Linked DNA regions of Homo sapiens: region 2 is linked to region 1. The links are contacts of gene promoters, found by promoter capture Hi-C in blood cells and fetal thymus (Javierre and others, 2016). All regions are on one chromosome and are shown on one strand. Each heading gives the region's core, a stretch centred on a gene start or on the middle of the fragment in contact. The rest is flanking DNA. Distances are from core to core; before and after follow the strand shown. Region 1 holds the start of TPRG1L (tumor protein p63 regulated 1 like). Region 2 overlaps C1orf174 (chromosome 1 open reading frame 174).

What was found. The method cuts DNA at HindIII sites, captures the fragments that hold promoters and counts their contacts. A CHiCAGO score of 5 or more calls a contact.
Region 2: a contact is called between a fragment that was not itself captured here and the fragment with the promoter of TPRG1L in region 1, in 1 of 17 cell types (monocytes). The highest score is 5.3, in monocytes.

Annotation. Positions count from the first base shown.
Region 1 is chr1:3,623,699-3,626,589 of GRCh38, reverse strand. It overlaps TPRG1L (tumor protein p63 regulated 1 like), which reads right to left and starts at 1,575. Exons shown (of 5, transcript NM_182752.4): 1 at 1,317-1,575; 2 at 1,075-1,166; 3 at 701-877. The coding sequence starts at 1,517. It also overlaps a transcript of MEGF6 not described here. RefSeq lists enhancers at 539-1,201, 2,182-2,301 and a silencer at 1,502-1,731. The HindIII fragment of the contact is 13,719 bases long and covers 1-2,891 here.
Region 2 is chr1:3,893,482-3,896,398 of GRCh38, reverse strand. All of the region lies in intron 1 of C1orf174 (chromosome 1 open reading frame 174), which reads left to right. Among named protein-coding and RNA genes, the nearest start is that of C1orf174, 5.3 kb to the left of the region's middle. The HindIII fragment of the contact is 8,006 bases long and covers 1-2,917 here.

The DNA of each region.
Region 1 (2,891 bases), core at 326-2,825:
AAAAGGGAATAATTATAGATAGGCTAGCCAAATGAGTGAAAAGGAAGTGTAATCTTCCTTTTCCTTATGTCATATTAAATGTTTTAACCAAAAGGTAAAATTTTTATTTTAGCTTCCTGAATCCCCCATCCAAATCTCTCCATCAAAAACCCAAGTTCTACAGCTTAACTGACTGTAGTAATGTTTAGGTTCCTCACGTCAGAAAATTATCCTACAGCAAAAAGATCAACTCCTGAAAGCTGGTCATTAAATATTTCCAAATTTGTCTTTTAGTGGTATCTATAAATTACAACGGGACCCTCCATTTCTCTTTAAAAAATTAGCCAGAGCAAGACTTGATGTGTCATATGCAATCTGTCCCTGGCTGGAGAAAAATGCAGAGTTTGGACTTTTCCTGAAGAACATCCAAGTTCCTTTTTAACACGCTGGGCTCTACTTCAATGCATCCTGAACTCATGTAAGTCTTTTTACTACCAGCCTAATAGCTGCCTTCTGTGCCAGAATTCCTTTTAATGCACTCAATTGCCCAGAAGTCGCTTCTTTTTAAGGAACTTCCCATTGATATTTGGAGCTGGAGCCTTTGTGCTTATAATTAATGACAGAGAAGACACACCGCTTGGGGGGCTGATTTAAAAGGGCTGAATTGTAAGGTCCACTCTGGTGCTTAGGTCCAGTGATACTGGACTCTGAACAGGCTTACTTGTTGAGCGATTTAGGGGGAAACTGGAATTCTCCGTAGGAAATGGTGTCTACTGCGTTGAGCGCTATCCGCACCACCTGCTGGCACTGGAGACTGATGAAGTCGTATTTACAGATAAGCAGGGACTGCTCCGTGACCAGCACCAGCCGCTCCTTCTCATTGTTCCAGTGATCCACCCTGTAGGCAGAGGAGGGGCCTCAGTCCACACTGGACGCGGCTGTCTCGACTTAGCCAAGGCCAGCCCGCCTGGAAGGGCAGCAGGGGCGGCACGGGGCGCCTGAGCGTGGCACGAGCACCCCGGGAAGTCCTCGCAAGGTGCTGCGCGGCGGCTCGGGGCGAGTCCCCCCACCAAGGAGAGCGCAGCCCCGGCTTACTCGGTAAGCAGCCACACTCCCTGGATCTCGCCGTCCTCCACGGGCCGCACCACCACGCGGATCTCCTCCACTGCCTGCTCGATGCTGCCGGGCTGGGCGGGTTGCGGGGTGGGGGACGGGGGCAAAGATCACAGGTCACAGCTCGCTCCCTGCGGGACCGCCCGGCGCCCGCCTCCGACCCCACCCGCCCCCATCCCGCCCCGCGCCCTCGGCCCCCGCCCCGGCCCTGGCCCCTGCCTCACCCGGAACACGAAGTACTCCTTGACGCGGGCGCGGCGCGTGGGGTCGTGGATGCTGAGAGGCCAGAGTGTCTGGCGCAGCGGCGTCCCCGCCCCCGGCCGCCCCCCGCCCGGGCCGCCGCCTGCCCCCACCTCCTCGCCGGCCGCCAGCACCGCCGTGGGGCTCGTACCGGCCGAGTCCACCGAGTCCCGCAGTTGCAGCATTGCCGCACCCCTTACCGACCCCGACCCTGACGCCGACGCGACCGCCGTCGCCGCAGCCACCGCCACCACCCGGCCGCGCCCCCGGCCCCGCCCCGCGGACCGCCGCGATTGGCTCCGCCTTGCCGGCCCCGCCTCTGGCTCCGCCCCTTCCCGCGTCCGCCGACCCTCGGGATTGGCTCTCCTCCTGCCGTTTTCCGCGATTGGCTCTGCCCCGCCGCCGTTCACAATCGCTCCCGCCCCTCGCCGGGCCGGAAGCGACCGTCACGCGCAGGCTCACTTCCTGTTTACACAACGAGAAGGGGCGGGGCCGAAGCCGGTTGCCAGGGTGTCGCGGAGCGGCTGGGAAGGAGGGGCTGGGAATCTTGGAGCCCCTTGGCCCGCGGGGAAAGCGGGTGACCCGCCCTGCAAGTGGGATGCCCCCTTCGGCCTTCTGGAGCGCAGGTGGGGGCGCGCGCCCATCGGGGGCTCGCACTGCACGGAGGGTCGCGGTGCCGGGGAGCTGAGGTTGGAGGATGCAGGGCGGCGGCCCTGGTGCACCGTGGGGGAGTTCGCACGCCGGGCAGCGATCTTCTGCCGGGACCTGGCGTTCTTCACACACGGCTTATTCGTGACGGATCCACAGAGCAATGCACTCTGAAGCCGGAGGGTAGAAAGTGCTGGAATGCGCGCCCGGGCCCAGGCTGTCGCGAGCCTTCAGCAAGCCAGTGCACACAGAGAGGGCTGCCCAGAGATCCCGGTCAGCGCTCGCAGTTCGAGGTGGAACATGTGTGTGCCCTGCGCTAGCCCCAGCTCCCGGAGGTGCCCCCAGCGCGTGTGGAGGGGGGCGGTGAACGGACCCGCAATCTGGTGGAGGCTGCGGGAAGGAGGCGCAGAGTCCAGGGGTCAGGGTTACCTTCGGGCAGGAGGACAGATCCCTCTGCTCGGAGGTGAGGAAGACACACGAGGCGAGGTGCACACAGGCGAGGAGAGTGAGATGGGGGGAGAATGAGGAGTTCAGGATACATCTGTTTACTTCAGTCAGGGAGTGGGGATGGAGCGGAGTATTTGTAAAGATGGACGGTTTAGAATCGCCGGGATGAGAACCGGGCAGGGAGCTGATCAGGGAAGGGCATGGGGATCTCTGAGCAGCTGGGAGACCCCAGGGAAGTTTGCAGTGGCGCCTCCCACGCGGCAGCTGGGGGAGTGGAAGAAACCAATGCTGGCTGGTCTAGATGGAGGAGTTTGCTGGGTAGCGGTGGTCAAAGACCAGAGAGAAAAGGGAGGCCAAAATCCTAGAGGGAGTGTTGCCCAAGAATGGTGGAGTGCAGGGATTCTGCCCCACTTGCCAGCAGACAGGCCAGGCTGCCAAAGTTGCATGGGCGCTGGCAGAAAGAC
Region 2 (2,917 bases), core at 181-2,680, 270 kb before region 1:
CTCCAAATGTGTCTTCCCCAGCCTGGAACCACCTCATATCTAGGACGGGGTTGATGGGGCCCCAGTCTTCTCCGTTCACTGGGCGGAGCCTCTTGCAGAGGCTTAAACCGTACTGGTAGAATGGAGCCAAGGTGAAGCCTTCATTCTACAAATAGGGTCTGAGCAGAAAGGAGGGCCCCTCTTCTCAATCCTACTCACTCAGGACCTGGTCTCAGTCACAGGTGGGATGAGAGCAGAAAGGGAAGCACTGCTATCCTGCCTCTCCTGGGAAGACACCCCGCTGCCTGGGAGCTGGGGAGGTGGCCCTGTGTTCTTGGCTGCAGCAGGATGGAGCTCAAGTGCCACAGACTCTCCGTGTCCTTACCAAATGTATGTAGGTGTTCTGGAGCAAGTGTTTCTTCATTTGCTGGGTGCCCATAGGACCATTTCCAAAGGCTCTCTAAATGGCTGTTTTGGGACTGCTCATTACTCTCTGAGAAGGTCAGTGAAGCTCCTCGAGCCATCATGTTGAAGTCAGTCTCGGCCAGCCCTTTTGGAGAAACCATGTTTGTGCTTCTGACATACCAGTTATTAAACAATCTACTGGAATGAGGAGAATCTCAATGATGAGAAAGTCTTTCCTTTTTTGGACTGTGGGAGCAGTCCAAGCTGCCCAGCTGCAGAGCAGGAATCTGCAAGTGAGACTGTGACCAATTCTTGACATTTTGGAGTTGACACCTTGGAGGTGGTTAATCCATGACGAAACTGAAGCTAAGCCGATCTCATGTTTTGACTCCTGTCAATCCGGAGAGGACAGCAAATGGCCTGCTCAGGTGTCTGTTAACAGCCAGCGCTTCCAGGCCCACCAGATCCTCAGGTGTCTGTTAACAGCCAGCGCTTCCAGCCCAGCAGATCATCTGGCTTTTCTCTGCAGAAGGGGCCAAAAGGTCCACCTGATGAACCTGTTGCACGCGAAAAGTTCAGAACCACTGCTGCCAAGATGCTGACAGAAGCCTTGAGAAGCACCTGCTGCGGGAAAAGACGTGCAGGCGTAGAACACAGAGCGGGTGGCAGCTTCTTCAGTTCAATCCCCACCTCAGGCAGTTGTTGGGGGTCATATCTAGGGTGAGCTGTGGTGATGGAATAGAGATTTGGAAGCCAGGCATCACTCGTATAACCTCATAAGCTCCTTACCCAAGTTGTCCTCATCTGAAATGGGTGTGCCACTCCTTTAAAGCTGTTCAGGCACCGAGCTGGGCTCCCCACACAGCATACTCCAGCACAGAGCAGCAAAGCGCCCGGAGGAGGGCTCACAGCAGGGAGGAGAGGTGGGGCAGTGGCTTTCTAGGTCAGAGATGTCTTTTCCCTACGAGGCACGTGATGGCGTTTTAGGGAGATGGGCTTGTTTAAGACCCAGTGGGAGGATTTTGATGAGAGATGTTTATGGCAACTCTTAGCAAGTTCTGTAACCTCTGTTGCCTCAGTCCCCTTGGTGTAACTGTGACCATGACGTCTGCCGGGGCTCTCAGCAAAGCCCTGCCCTTGTGAGAGGACGGAGGCGCAGCCCCCGGTGTGCTGTGGTAGCAGGCACTTCACCCAGCCTGTGGGCAACTGGCGTGTCCTGTGTACAGCAGGCGGGCGTCCTGGCCTCCGGTGGGCTGCTGCCTGCTCTTCTCCCTCCTGTTTCAGACACACACTCTGACTGCCACAGTATCACAGGACCTTGGAGCTGCCACCCCACAGGGTTTCTGGAGCTGTCTTGGGCTACGGGGTGCATGGCTGAGACAGATTATTTCTTTTTTTTTTTTTTTTTGAGACGGAGTCTTGCTCTGTCACCCAGGCTGGAGTGCGGTGGCGCAATCTCGGCTCACTGCAAGCTCCGCCTCCTGGGTTCACGCCATTCTCCTGCCTCAGCCTCCCAAGTAGCTGGGACTACAGGCGCCCACCACCACGCCCGGCTAATTTTTTGTATTTTTAGTAGAGACGGGGTTTCACTGTGTTAGCCGGGATGGTCTCGATCTCCTGACCTTGTGATCCACCTGCCTCAGCCTCCCAAAGTGCTGGGATTACAGCCGTGAGCCACCGCGCCCAGCCGAGACAGATTATTTCTGTGTTTTATTTTTTTGTTTTTTTCCTTTTTTTATTTCTCTTATCTGCTGTTGGGCAGGGCACTCTTCATCCGTCCCCTTCTGGGTTCCAGTTCTAGGGCCTGTTGGCAGCAGCTCTTGGGCCTTTCCCGGCCATGTCAACCTGCATTGCTCCTGTTTGTTGCTTCTACTACTCACACTCATTCCTTTCGAGTTTTCTAAGTGCAGTGTGGTATTGTGGACTGGATTCTGGAACAGAAAAACGGTTCATGGAGAAACCGATAAAATACAAATAAAATCTATAGTTTAGTGAAGAGTACCGTAATGTCACTAATTTCTTAATGTTGACAATGTCCTGTAGTTGTTTAACATTAGTGGAAGCTGAGTGAAGGCTACATGGCAACTCCCTGTACTATTTTATTATTATTATTTTTTCAGAGACACTGTCTCACTCTGTCACCCAGGTGGAGTGCAGTGGTGCAGTCATAGCTCACTACAGCCTCAGACTCCTGGGATCAAGTGATCCTCTCACCTCAGCCTCCCACATAGCTGGGACTACAGGTGCACACCACCACACCTGGCTAATTTTTAAAAAAATTTTTTAAAGATGGGCTTTCGCTGTATTGCCCAGGCTGGTCTTGAACTCCTGGGCTCGAGCGATCCTCCTACCTCAGCTTCCCAAGTAGCTGGGATTACAGGTGTGAGCTATCACACCAGTTTCTTTGTACTATTTTTTGCAACTTTCTGAATGCCGAAAATTATTCCTAAATAGTTATTTTAAATGTTATGTCTTTAATTAATTTCTTTCTTGTTATTAGAGGAGTTTGCTTTGCATTCAGGATAAAAGAGAG